Regions from separate parts of the Homo sapiens genome. Here region 2 is linked to region 1. The links are contacts of gene promoters, found by promoter capture Hi-C in blood cells and fetal thymus (Javierre and others, 2016). All regions are on one chromosome and are shown on one strand. The core of a region is centred on a gene start or on the middle of the fragment in contact, and the rest is flanking DNA. Distances in the headings are between cores, read along the strand shown.

Region 1 (6,963 bases), core at 2,244-4,743:
GATGGACTAAGACAGCTGCCATCTTGAGATTTCTGCCATCAGCCACACAAGGGTTGCACCCAGCAAGCACTGCCCGGCACCCTGCTGCCATCTCCTGGAGATTGTTGATCCTCTCCTGCTCCTTAGACTGTTGGGCCTGCTCTCCTTGACCAGTTCTAACAAGCCCTTGATATCCTCAATACACTATCAGCCATCATAGTGTGAATGGAATGAGGATTATTTTATTGCTGTGATGTGAGCCTCATAGAAAAATGCACAGAAAAGTAACTAAAATAATGCAGCAAAGGACCAGAAAATGGAGGAAATGCCTATCTCCTACTGATATGCAAAGAAGCTGGAGCCAGTTGGATCAAACTGACCCAAGATTACTCATGAGTATATGTATTCAGCACGTGAAGATCACTCATGAGTCCCATATACATTTGGCAAGTGAGAATCTTTTAAAGTTTAAAACTGGTGTCATCAGGCACAGGGAACTACCCATTGGCACTAATGCTACAGCCATCTTGGAAAACATACCAAAATATCATCTATTTTCTTCCTCATTTCCAGTAAGTAAATGGCAACATTTCTTTCTAAGGAAACTGAAAAAATCTAAGGGATCATTTTACTCAGCTTGATACCAAAGTTATTTTAGTTTATAAGTATTAGACATATGGAGTAGCTGTGATAAAAGCAAAGATATTCATAAATTACATTTTTAAAAAAGAATTCTGAGAGTGTTCACATATCTAAGTTCCCACAAAAGTCAGCATGAAAGCAGTAACAGAGGAAAAGAGAAAACAGCTGAGCTGACATCACACAACAGCTAAATGGAAGGGGGATAAATTGGCATAGCCAAATAGACTATTTGACTATAAAAATTAAGAGCTTTAAAAATGTGCAAATCATTAGAATCAATAATTTTACTTCTAAAAATCTATCCTGAAAAAAAGAATCAAAAGCCAAAGATTCCTAAATAAAAAAGTGTGTTTTTTTGTTTTTTTGTTTTTTGTTTTTTTTTTGTTTTTTTTTGTTTTTTGTTTTGAGACAGAGTCTCACTCTGTTGCCCAAGCTGGAGTGCAGTGGCACAATCTCCCCTCACTGCAACCTCTGCCTCCCAGGTTCAAGTGATTCTCCTGCCTCAGCCTCCCAAGTAGCTGAGATTACAGGCGTCCAGCACCACGCCCAGCCAATTTTTTGTATTTTTAGTAGAGATGGGGTTTCACCATGTTGGCCAGGATGCTCTCTATCTGTTGACCTCATGATCCACCTGCCTTGGCCTCCCAAAGTGCTGGGATTACAGGTGTAAGCCACCGTGCCTGGCCTGTAAACATGTTTTTAAGTCTACTTAATGACATAGGAAAATATTCAAGTTAAAGCAATAGGTGAAAAAATTTTAACAGCTGTATATGCAGTATAATCAAAATTATATTAAAATATTATTTTACATAGAAAAAAAGAAAAGATATAAATGCATCAAAACATTAACACTGTTTATCTCTGCATGATGAGATTGTGAATGATTTCTTTTTTGAGACAGAGTCTCATTCTGTTGGCTGGGCTGGAGTGCAGTGGCACTATCATAGCTCACTGCAACCATAGCCTACTCCAGGTCTTATGCTATCATCCTGCCTTCATAGTTGGGATTACAGGTGTGTGCCACCTTACCACACTTTATTCAATTTTTCTTTTTTTTGAGTCGGAGTCCCACTCCGTTGCCAGGCTGGAGTGCAGTGGCGCAATCTTGGCTCACTGCAACCTCCACCTCCTGGGTTCAAGTGATTCTCCTGTCTCGGCCTCCCGAGTAGGTGGGACTACAGGCGCGCGCCACCACGCCCAGCTAATTTTTGTATTTTTAGAAGAGACAGGGTTTCACTGTGTTGGTCAGGTTGGGCTCAATCTCTAGGCCTCGTGATCTGCCCACCTCAGCCTCCCAAAGTGCTGGAATTACAGGTGTGAACCACCGTGCCCAGCCCTTCAATATTTTTAAAGATTATATAAAGAAAAGCATAGCTTCCACACACAGTTCAGGAGTCAGGGCCCTGAGTGAAATGGAGTATAAGGTGATGGAAGATTGCCCCTGGCTTTGAGGATCATCTTGCTGGATGACCAGAGTTTGTTTTTCATCTGGAAGAATCATGGTCCCCCTCTTGGAGAGAACCTGGAGTCCTGGCCACACCTTCTGAGCTTCTGACATTAAGATTCGGTGTGGTGTGTGAGCAGCTGGGAGTAAATGTGAGAACAGTCCTGCCAACTACCTTCTCTGCCCCATCACCACTCACTTCACCTCCCTCACCCCGATTCTCACCCCAGAAAATCAATATTAAGCTTCCCTTTGGAGGGGCCCCTCTTCTTTCTTTTTTTTTTAACCAGTTTTTTTTTCTCTGAAGCAATATCAAACATTAGAACAAATTCACCCACACACAATGATGGCCTCTAAATATTTGAAGACCATGTTGGTCTCCATGAGAGGGCTTCTTTGCTTCAGACTAAACCAAACCAGGTCCTTGTGTGATATTTCCCAAGCCTCTCTTTATCCTGCCAACCCTCCTTGGATGTCACACTTGGAATTGTCAAGGGTCACTTAATAGGCAGTGCCTGGAGTCAACACTGGCCCTCTGTTCTGGCCAGAAAGACACACTGTAATTCTGCTGAGTCTGCAAAGAATGTTCAAGGGGTATTTGTGTCCGTAGCTGCTCGTGCAGCATCTCAGCCTGCGGTGTCAGACTCGAACCCAGAGCTGTGTCAAATGAGTCAGGACTCCCCTCTGCTGCCCTTGTGCACTGGCAGGGGCACTAGGTTACTAGTGCTAGGAGACTCTGGTCAGTGCCCATCTGTGCTGTCACATGCAGGGCCCTGGCAGTGAGGTCTGGAGAAGGAAGAGAAGGGGCAGGGAACCCCACACGTTTTGCTGGTCATTTCCCACCGTGGTCCTGCCACGGGAACCCCCTTCTTCCACCTCCATTCCCCACTTTAGGCAGAAACATCTCTCATCCTTTTTCTTTTCTCCAAGAATCTTCCCCCAAAATCTTGGCATCTCCTATACACATCTGTACCTTTGCTATATCTGTGGGCCTTGTTCTCCCTGTAGGACTCCTCTTGGAAAGCTAACTCCCCCTGACATTGGAGAATTTTATCAAATTGCTGAGTATCCTCCCTTCCCTCTCACAGACCCCATGGCATGCTCAGATCACAGTAGAAGACATTTCCTCTGCTGCCAAACCCATGGCACTCTGAGGCTGACTGTGTCCACCTCATTCCCTCAGCTGTCTTCTCTTTGCTGCTATTACCATGTTCCAAGCAGACTTTGGAGCATCTCCCCCACAGCAGCATGGACTTTGGCAGATTTCTTGGGGACCAGCGATGTCCTAACCTGTTTGCTTTTCCAGGGCTGATGTTTGCAGGGTGTTTTTTTTTTTCTTTTGAACCAAAGCAGAAATCATCCTGTATCCTTATGCAATTCTTCCGGCAGGCTCCAACAGATAAATAAAGCCCACCACCCTCCATGGGTCTACCTTTCCCAGCAGAGCACCTGGGTTGGTCCCGAAGCCTCCAACCACCTGCACGCCTGCCAGGGCCTCTCTGGGGCAGCCATGAAGTCCCTCGTCCTGCTCCTTTGTCTTGCTCAGCTCTGGGGCTGCCACTCAGCCCCACATGGCCCAGGGCTGATTTATAGACAACCGAACTGCGATGATCCAGAAACTGAGGAAGCAGCTCTGGTGGCTATAGACTACATCAATCAAAACCTTCCTTGGGGATACAAACACACCTTGAACCAGATTGATGAAGTAAAGGTGTGGCCTCAGGTAAGTGGACCTGCTGTCTATGAGCTGAAATAATGTGTACATGGAGCTCAATCAGGTGCCTCAAAAAATCACCATCACCCAGTGCAAATGAAACCACAGAGGAGTAAATTCTCTGATTTCTTCCCAGGAGTGAGGGAAGGGGCAGGCAGAGGGCAGGAGAGGAGACATTCTGTATGGCAGTCATGGGTGTCAGGAGGGAGCTGGGTGGGGTGTGAGGTGGTGTGCAGGAGAAAAAGTGCTTCAAATGGTAGTGTGCAGATCACAGACAGAAAGTGTAACTTGCTGGAAAAACTAGGACCCAAGAGACCAGCTCCTAGTTGCCAAGTTACCACTGGCTGAAAATCACGTATCTGTCTTTGGTTTGGTTTCTCTCTAACAAAGACTGAGAATGAATAAAACTAGCATCTGGCAGATGCCTACTATATGCCAGGCCCATTCACATAGATTATCTCATTTACTCTTTCCCGGTCCTGCCTCCTGGTGCTGTGTGGTACATATATTGTTCTTGTCTTACCCAAGAGGAGACCAAGGCTCTGTTGTGTGTGTGTGTGCAGTTTTTTTGTTTTTTGTTTTTGTCTTTTTTTTTTTGGTCCAAAATCATATAATTACTAAGTCTTCAGGCTGGGATTTGATTCCATATCTGTGTTCCTTCTTCTACACAAACTGCCTCCCAAAGAGAGTTACCCACATCCCAGAGAGAAGTCTTGGCATAAACACAATTCACCTCCTCACACACTAGACAGGAAACCAACGCAGCTTGAAGCCAGTGACAAGAAAAATCAAGCTGGAAATATGCCTCGGGGATCAGTCAAGAGATTTGGAGAGGTGGAAAGAAGCTGTCTGCCTACTGCCTGTTTTGAAATTAGATTTATTTCTGATTAAGGACAATTCTTTCAGCAAATATGTATTACAAGCCTTCCTTGGACAAGAACCAGAGATATTAGGTTGAACCATATAAAACTGCCATTTTTCTATATCAAAAGCAACCAAATATTGGCCGTTTTAATGGTTCAACCTAATACAGTGGTGAAAAAGGCACAATATGTGCCCACAAGAGCTTACAATCTAGGTTGGAAAATAAGGTCAACAACAGGAAGCCTGGACCGACTGACGACTGCCATCCGTCTCACAAAGAGACAAAATATTTGAAATCAGGATTGCTCCGGATGGATTTTAAGAGTGCTGCAGCCATATTAAAGCACAGTGGTGGTTAGGAGGAAACGCTGATCAAGTCAGGGGAAATGAACACGCAACACGCACATCTGAGGGAAAAGGTAATCATGAATGGGCATTGTGACTTTTACTAAAGGCAGAGCTTCAGAGTTGGTTCCCTTGAGAAACCCAGGTGTACCCGGTTCCTGTTCGCCAGAGCTGTGAACGCTTTCAGGCAGTCACTCTGGGCACACCTGGACATCATAAAATGCGGAGCTTCTCCCAGGGGAGGGGATGCTGAGGCTTCAGGTACTAGTGAATCAGGCAGAACCAATGAGAGGCAAACAGAGCTGGGCTGAGAGGAGAAAAGGCATACTTGTACCTTCTGGATTTTTCAGGCTTCGAAGACAAGATACAGAAACAGGTGAACTCACAAGAATATCTCCAAGGATTGTTGCAAGCTCCCTCGTGTCTACACTAGTGACATCCAGTTTCCTGTCAGAGGGAGACATGCCCTTCCCCATTATCGCCAGCAGGGGGAAGTAGAGAGCAGCATCGTTGCATGCCGGCACCTGCTGCACAAGCCAAGACAAAGGAAAAACCAAGGACAACAGCAGCAAAAACCTCTAGGAGGGAAAAGAAAACGGAGGAAGGAAGGAAAGCAAATAATGAAAAGGAAGAAAGAAAGAAGGAGAGGGAGGGATAGAGGAGATTAAAAAAAGACAGTAAGATATTACCCTACACCACCTTATTTTGCAGCTTGTCTGAGAAAAATCCAAACTTGCATTTTCCAAAGCACTGCTTGAAGAGTGAAATCTTAAAAAATTAAATAAATAATAAATACAAATAAGTGTTAACACCCATTTGTAGTTTTCAAATAGAGCTCAGAGTGAGGGCTGTGGCTCCATCGACTTGTTCAAGCCCAGGACCCCGTCTGCTTTGCGAGCATCATCTGGTGCTTCCTTAATCAACAGACGAAGACCAGACAAGCCCTGGTCATTGTCCTGCCCACAGGCCAGTTCAGAGCTAGACGGAGTTGCAGACTGACAGTAAGAATGACATTTCCCTCACCTCTCCAAAAGCGGGGTGCTCTCAAGCCCAATGAGGGCGCATACCGTGGACCGCACCACAGGATCAGGGGAATAGGTTGCTCACGGCTTCACTCTTTGTCTCCACAGCAGCCCTCCGGAGAGCTGTTTGAGATTGAAATAGACACCCTGGAAACCACCTGCCATGTGCTGGACCCCACCCCTGTGGCAAGATGCAGCGTGAGGCAGCTGAAGGAGCATGTGAGTACCCTTCTTAGGATGACTGTAGGTGGCCCTTCGGCCAGCTCCACCGATTCACCCAGCGTCTCAGCCTGCCTTCTTGGCTAGCCAGGGTGCAGTTTCTAAAATTGCCATTTGTGGCCGAGCGCAGTGGCTCATGCCTATAATCTCAGCACTTTGGGAGGCTGAGGCAAGTGGATCGCCTGAGGTCAGGAGTTCAAGACCAGCCTGGCCAGTATGGTGAAACCCCATCTCTACTAAAAATACAAAAATTAGCTGGACGTGGTGACGGGCACCTGTAAATCCCAGCTCCTCGGGAGGCTGAGGCAGGAGAATCGCTTGAACCCGGGAGGTGGAGGTTGCAGTGAGCCAAGATCCTGCCATTGCACTCCAGCCTGGGCAACAACAGTGAATCTCTATCTCGAAATAATAATAATAATAATCATCATCATAAATAAAATTGCCATTTGATGCCACTTGCCCTGGGGCTGATTTTTACAAGCGTTTAACTATATCGTTGTATCCCTGAAAGCAGAGAGTGCCATGTTTCAGTATTACCCAGCAAAGGCGATTTTGCAAGGGTCACCTTTGACAGCCGTGCCTGGAGGGAGCCTGCCCGGGGTGCGAAGGGGAAGGGCAGCCATCCTCACGTGGGTTTCTTTCTCCAGGCTGTCGAAGGAGACTGTGATTTCCAGCTGTTGAAACTAGATGGCAAGTTTTCCGTGGTATACGCAAAATGTGATTCCAGTCCAGGT
Region 2 (7,363 bases), core at 397-2,896, 650 kb before region 1:
TGGGAGGCCGAGGTGGGTGGATCACCTGAGGTTGGGAGTTCGAGACCAGCCTGAACAACATGGTGAAACCCCACTTCTACTAAAAATACAAAATTAGCTGGGTGTGATAGTGCATGCCTGTAATCCCAGCTACTTGGGAGGCTGAGGCAGGAGAATTGCTTGAACCCGGGAGGCAGAGGTTGCGGTGAGTTGAGATTGCGCCACTGCACTCCAGTTTGGGCAACAAGAGTGAAACTCCATTAAAAAGAAAGAAAGAAAGAAAGAAAGAAAGAAAACAGCAGTGTTGGCTGAGTGCAGTGGCTCATGCCTGTAATCCCAGCATTTTGGGAGGCCAAGGTGGGCGGACCACCTGAGGTCAGGAGTTCGAGACCAGCCTGGCCAACATGGTGAAATCCCCTCGTCTCTACTAAAAATACAAAAAAAAAAAAAAAAAAAAAAAATTAGCCAGGCATAGTGGCACGTGCCTGTAATCCCAGCTACTTGGAAGGCTGAGGCAGGAGAATCCTTTGAACCCAGTGGGTGGAGATTGCAGTGAGCTGTGACTGTGACATTGCACTCAAGCCTGGGTAACAAGAACAAAACTCCATCTCAAAAAAAAAAAAAAAAAAAAAAAGAAGAAGAAAAGAAAAAGAAAAAAAGAAAATTGAAAATTGCAGTGTCACAGTGAGTAAGTGGACTAGTGGTAACAGGAACAAGGAGGGGCACAATAAAAGGCGTGGTAATTGGAATGGGTTTATAATTCTCACCAGAGAAGAAACACAGCATTTCGGCTGGTGTCGCTGCTCCAGGGAAAGTTCTGTTACTCCACTGACTCTCTCTTTTCCTGATAACATGGCCAGCAAGAAAGTAATTACAGTGTTTGGAGCAACAGGTAAAAAGTCTTTAATTTTTAGGGCATGCTGACTTTGCTCACTCTCCTGTCTTCCTGTTTGTAACTTTAGAGCCTGCAAGTGTGGGCTGAACAAAGAGCTCTTTGGAAGAAATTTTTTAAAGTATCCTATTGCTTTAGTTCTTGATGTGGTAAAGGGGTGGCATGATTTGATTTGTAACTTGATCTCAGCAGGACAAGGACACTGACGTAATCTCCCTTTCCCAGTCATGGGGCTAACTGGTTGGTATAAGTCTCATTTCAACATAAGCTATACTCTGAAGTCTTCTCTCCACTCACTTCCTAATAAGCAAAAGGTACAAGTGTGAGGGGCCTGGGGGTTTGTAGTGAATATCCAATGCCTGACCAATCTTCCAGGGAGTCTGCAAGGATGGAGTGTGTGGGAAGTTTGCATTCCTGGCTCCCTTACAGTTTGTTCCTCAACAGTCAGAGCCATCTTTGCACAATATAAATCAAATCAGGTTTTTCTCCTTCAATCTATTCTCATTTCAGCCTCCCAAGGATCCATTTGAAACTGTCAGATCATGTCAGGCCTCTGCTCAAAACCCTCTAAAAGATCCCAGCCCCATGGCACTCCCAGTAAAGTGCAAAGTCCTGCTAATGCCCTGCAACAGGGCCTTGGAAATGTTGTGTCAGAACTCTCTTCCTGCCACCCTCCTCTCACTCCGCTTCATTACCCTGGCTTTCTTGCTGTTCCTCCAAAACAATCCCACAAATACAAAGGCTCTGGCCTTTGTATTGGCTGCTTCTTCAACCTAGAATGATCTCCCTCTGTTACTGATATAATTTGACTGTGTCCCCACCCAAATCTCATCTTGAATTGTAGTTCCCACAATCCCTACATGTCATACGAGTGACCAGGTGGAGATAAATGAATGCTGGGGGCGGTTCCCCCAGCCTGTTCTCATGATAGTGAAAAGAGAGAGTTCCCTGGTCCTGGTCCCCCACCACAGGGTGTGCCACAGGGGTGTGGCTCTCTGTTCTGCCACTGCAAGCTCAAACTCTTTAAGAGATGGGGAGCATGCATACCGGTAGGTGCAGGAACTGGGGCAAGTGCTTTTGGGCTCCAGCCCTATGGCAGCATCTAGGGGTGGGTGTCTGTAACTTTCAAAGCCCAAGTGTGCATGTGTTACAGTGCACTCTTTTAGCCTTGCCATCCACAGATGGCTTAAGGGTTAACCAGCTCAGTGAACCCTCTGCCTTTTTGCAAAAGGAGGGGGCTAGTGTGACAACTTTCTGTATCCCAAGCCCTCATCCAGCATCCCAGAAGAATCAGGTCACACATGGACTTGAAGGATGAATGCAGGGGTTTTATTGAGTGGTGGAAGTGGCTCTCAGTGGGATGGTTGGGGAGCTAGACAGGGGATGGAGTAGAAATATGATCTTGCCCTGGAGTTTGGCTGTCCAGTGGCTGATTCTCCGAACATCCTCAGCCAAACTCCTCCTGACGTTCCTTCTCTTCTCTCCTCTGCTGCACCATTCTGCCATCTGTTTGTCTCCTTGTCTCCTAGTCTGCTTCTGGAGCCTGGGGTTTGGGGCTTATATGGATACAGGATAGGGGTGGTGGCAGGCCAGAAGGCAACTTTTGGGGTGCAAAAACAGGAATGCCTATTACTTAGGGCAGCAGGTATCCAGGCTTAAGGGTGGGGCCTTTGCCAGGAACCACCCTCTTCTACCCAGTATTTCCCTGTCTCCTGTTCGTATCAATAGTGAGTTCGTTCTCATGAGATCTGGTGGTTTTACAAGCGGCTTCCCCCTTCACTGGGCCCTCATTTTCTCTGCTGCCACCCTGTGAAGTGGTGTCTCCCGCCATGATTGTAAGTTTCCTGAGACCTCCCTAGCCATGTGAAACTGTGAGTCAATTAAACCTCTTTTCTTTATAAATTACCCAGTGTTGGGTATTTCTTCACAGCAGTGTGAGAAAGAACTAACACAGTTACCCACTGCTTTCCCCCTCATGCCATTCAGGTCTCTGCTTAGATGTTACCTTTTCCATGGGGACTTTCCAGACCTCTATATTTGAAATTGCAACTCTGCTTCCACCCTGCCCATGTCTGGCTCCCTTCCTTACTTCAATTCTTCTATTTCTGCCTGTCTTTCCACACTAGAATATAAGCTCTATGAGAACAGGAATTTGTCTGGAGGAAGTCAAGGGCTAAAGCAGGAAGCAGAGTGAAATAAATTCTCAAAAATCAACAGTCAAGTATGATATTAAAAGGAGAAGAAGAGGCAATGGAGCGGGGGATGACTCTATTAAGCGTTAGGGTGATGGTAAAGATGTTGGCTTTTCCTGAAAGAGAAAAGTGATCGAAGGGTTTGGTTTTTTCAGTGTGTTTGTGTTTAGCTACAGGGTCTCACTGTGTTGCCTGGGCTGGAGGGTAGTGACTCTCCATCCCAGGAGCCATCATAGTACACAGCCTCAAACTCCTGGGCTCAAGTGATCTTCCCACCTCAGCCTCCCAAGTAGCTGGGACTGCAGGATTGCAACAGCATACCAGACACTGAAGGATTTTGAGCAGAGGAATCACATGACTTTGGTGTTAAAAGGATCATTTTAGCTTATGCTTTGTGAAGGGACTATAGGGGATAAGGGCTGAAGCAGGAAGACCTGTTAGGAGGTGGTTGTCATAAAATAGGCGAGATGATAGTAGCTTAGACCAGGGTGGTAGCAATGAGATTGTGGAGAGTGGTCAGATTCTGTGGAGGTTTTAAAAGTTGTGTTGGCAGGATTTGTTGGTGGACCAGATATCAGGGGTAAGAAGGGAAGAGTTGAAAATGACTCTGAAGTTTTATGGCTTGAGTAACTGGAAGAATAAAGTTGAGATTCACTGAAATATGGGAGACAGTGGGGAGGAGGAGGTCAGGAACTCCTTAAACTTGAATTGGTCTCATTAAACTTGAGTTGCCAACTAGGCATCCAGAGACTGGGTAGGCAGTTGGATAAGATTTTTGGGAGTGGCCAGTCACTCTATTAATTCTGTCTTCTAAATCTCTCTGATTTTTTCCATTCTCCCTCTTAGAAGCTTTTTCCACACTCCATTTGCCTTCTCTCCATGTTCCACCTTTAAACAGAACCATCTTTCAAATCTGATTAATTTTTCAAACCTTGTAGACAGCTAATACCACCTTGTATCACATTCCCATTCTCCTTCATTACTGCTCAAGATGTAAGCCCCTCTGGTTATTAGTCTCAACCCTATATTTCGCCACGCATCCTTTCCTTGACCCCACATCTCAGACTCCCTTGCCTACAAAACCTTCTCACGGTACCCTTCTGTTCCAACATCAACATCTTGCTAAATGCCCCCTCAACCTCTTTGAATAAATGGTCACACTTGACTTTTCTCTCTCAATCCTCCCTGTTCATCATCACCACATCCAGTTAATCACCAAAATCCTGTTGATATCATCTTGTCAAGGAAAACTGTGAAGGCCCGGCGCAGTGGCTCACGCCTGTAATCCCAGCACTTTGGGAGGCCGAGGCCGGCGGATCATGAGGTCAGGAGATCGAGACCACCGTGAAACCCGGTCTCTACTAAAAATACAAAAAAAAAAAAAAAATTAGCCGGGCGTAGCGGCTGTCGCCTGTAGTGCCAGCTACTCGGGAGGCTGAGGCAGGAGAATGGCGTGAACCCGGGAGGTGGAGCTTGCAGTGAGCCGAGATCGCGCCACTGTACTCCAGCCTGGGTGACAGAGCGAGACTCCGTCTCAAAAAAAAAAAAAAAAAAAAGGAAAACTGTGAAAGACTTTGAAATGGGAAAAAAAGGTTGCTGGGTGTCCATGCCCAGGGCACCGTTCTCACTTTTGTGAGCCTTTCCTTGTTTTTAAGATATCTATAACTCTATAAGTTGTAGCAAATAGATAATAACGCAACCGATTCTTGTCCATAGAAATGCAAATGAAGGCCGGGTGTGGTGGCTCATGCCTGTAATCCCAGCACTTTGGGAGGCCGAGGTGGGCTGATCATGAGGTCAGGAGTTTGGGACCAGCCTGGCCAATATGGTAAAACCCCGTCTCTACTGAAAATACAAAAATTAGCCAGTCATGGTGGCAGGCACCTGTAGTCCCAGTTACTCAGGAGGCTGAGGCAGGAGAATCGCTTGAACCCAGGAGGCAGCAGTTGCAGTGAGCTGAGATCACGCCACTGCACTCCAGTCTGGGCAACAGAGCAAGACTCTGTCTCAAAAAAAAAAAAAAAAAAGAAATACAAATGAATTGTGTCTGGTGGACCACAATTGATTATTGCCTGGTGGATATTGACTGGTTTTGTCCCTAATTGTACATTCATTTTAGCATTTTGGCATTCTTGATTGCCTACATATATGTGTGTTCTTTGAATTTTTCTTATAACATTGTACTGGTTCCCTCATTAATTAATGAGTTAAATAAAATTTTGACACATTCATTTTATGTGTGTACAAATTATCATTTTACTCTTTAAAAATGTATCCTTTAATATTCTGAGTATCTCTTAAATTTGCATTATTCCCTCCACCTGAATAACCCCTTCTAGCACAGGTCATTATCAACCTTTACCTAGATTATTTTAAAGCCCACTAATTGTACCCTTGTCTGTGGTCTCTCTATCCTATTCCACACTCTCCATTAACCAGAGCACTTTCCCAGCATGTAAGTCTGAACATACTGCTCAATTTCATAAAATCTCCTGCTCCCAGAACAAAGTGCAGCCCTCTAGGCCTATTTTGCTTCTCCAGCCTCATGTGTGACATTGACCTGCAGTTCTCAGTCAGATTCATTTCAGTTCTCTGAATTCACTCCCTTCTCTGTCACCTCTAGAATAAAGCACTTGCAATTGCTTTGCATGCAACACACTCCACATGCCTCTCTTCTCCCAATTCTTGCCTGTTCTTTAGGGCTCATTTCTGTTACCACTTCCTTCAGGAAGCCTCTCTCTAGTCTGGGTTAGATGCTCCACTTATGTCCTCCTGTGTGCCCTCAGCCCTTTACCTCCTCCCCTAATAGCACATATCACGCTGTATTATAATTGCTCTTTAATGATCTCCTCTGCTAGTCTTTAAGCTCTGTGCTGGCAGGTGCCATGTTCAGGTTTGAATCCTGAAATCCTTACTTAAGCAGCTGTATAATCTGGGGTAAATCCTTGAACTCATTAGGCCATAATCCAATATATAATGTCTTTCATAAATTTTATCTTATATCCAACTTGTTCAAACCTGCTATTGTTTACCACTACATCCCCAGGGCATAGCACAGCATGTAAAAGTCATTCAAAAACATGGTCCCAGGACAATAACAGAAACCTCCCTATAAAAATCCTTTTCAAGGACCATGACCCACCCTACCTACTCCAGCACCCCCCAACCCCCTGCAAAAAGCACAAATTATACTCAAATAGAAAGTACTTCAGTTTGTTTAGATTTTTATTTTATAAAGTCAGAGTAAAATATTCAACCCACCTGCTTTTTAATTGTGAATGGTTCCATATAATGGCCATCCTAGGAGGGATGAAAAAGGGTTTTGTTTTACTTTCTCTAATTTATAAAGAAAAAAAGGTTTATTTGATTAATGATTCTCGTGGCTGGGAAGTTCAAGATTGTGCATCTGCATCTGATGAGGGCCTCAGGCTGCTTCCACTCACGGTGGAAGGTAAAGGGGAGCTGGCATGTGCAGAGATCACATGGAGAGAGAGGAAGCAAGAGGGAGGGTGGAGGTGCCAGGCTCATTTTAACAACCAGCTCTCACAGGAACTAATAGATGAGAACTCACCTCTGAGGGAGGGCATTAATCTATTCATGAGGGATCTGCTCCCATGACCCAAACACCTCCAATTAGGCTTCAATATTGGGAATCACATTTCAGCATGATGTTTGGAGGGGACAAATATCCACACCAGCAGTCAGTGTTCTGCAATTTCACAGTGATGCGCATAAAGTGGGAGTTCATTTATCATTGTATGGGGCACTCAGTGACCTCTCAATCTGGAAGCTCAGTTAATATCCTTGGACTCCAAGAAATTACTATTTTCTTAGATAATTTCAATACCTCCATCTATTTCTCATTCTATAATTCCCCTGGCTTGATCTTCTAATTATTTTTCTCTCTCTTATTTTACTTGCTTTATTTTTCCCCTTCTAATTCTGGGAGAGTTCTCCAACTTTTTCTACTGACATTTTATTTCTGCTATAATAAATTTTTGAGAGCAGCTGCTTATCTTTTGAATGCTTGCTCTCTTTCTCCTGTCTCTTCTTCTCCTCTTTTTGGGCTGATATAGTGTTTGGAATGCAAAACCTTTTCTAATCTCAGAGGATATTAATTTGGAGTCTTACTCTGTCACCCAGGCTGGAGCGCAGTGGCGAGATCTTGGCTCACTGCAACCTCTGTCTCCTGGGTTCAAATGCTTCTCCTGCCTCAGCCTCCCAAGTAGCTGGGATTATAGGCACCTGCCACCACACCCGGCTAATTTTTGTATTTTTAGTCGAGAAGGGGTTTTACCAT

The links. Contacts are between HindIII fragments. The CHiCAGO score rates a contact against its expected background, and 5 or more counts as called.
Region 2: a fragment that was not itself captured here is called in contact with the fragment with the promoter of AHSG in region 1 in 9 of 17 cell types (non-activated CD4 T cells, activated CD4 T cells, total B cells and 6 more); the score reaches 12.6 in non-activated CD4 T cells.

Annotation. Positions count from the first base shown.
Region 1 is chr3:186,609,567-186,616,529 of GRCh38, forward strand. AHSG (alpha 2-HS glycoprotein) reads left to right here and starts at 3,494. Exons shown (of 7, transcript NM_001622.4): 1 at 3,494-3,788; 2 at 6,119-6,229; 3 at 6,877-6,961. The coding sequence starts at 3,576. The HindIII fragment of the contact is 5,898 bases long and covers 2,309-6,963 here.
Region 2 is chr3:185,959,208-185,966,570 of GRCh38, forward strand. It overlaps the pseudogene NMRAL2P. Among named protein-coding and RNA genes, the nearest start is that of TRA2B, 25 kb to the left of the region's middle. The HindIII fragment of the contact is 4,527 bases long and covers 1-3,910 here.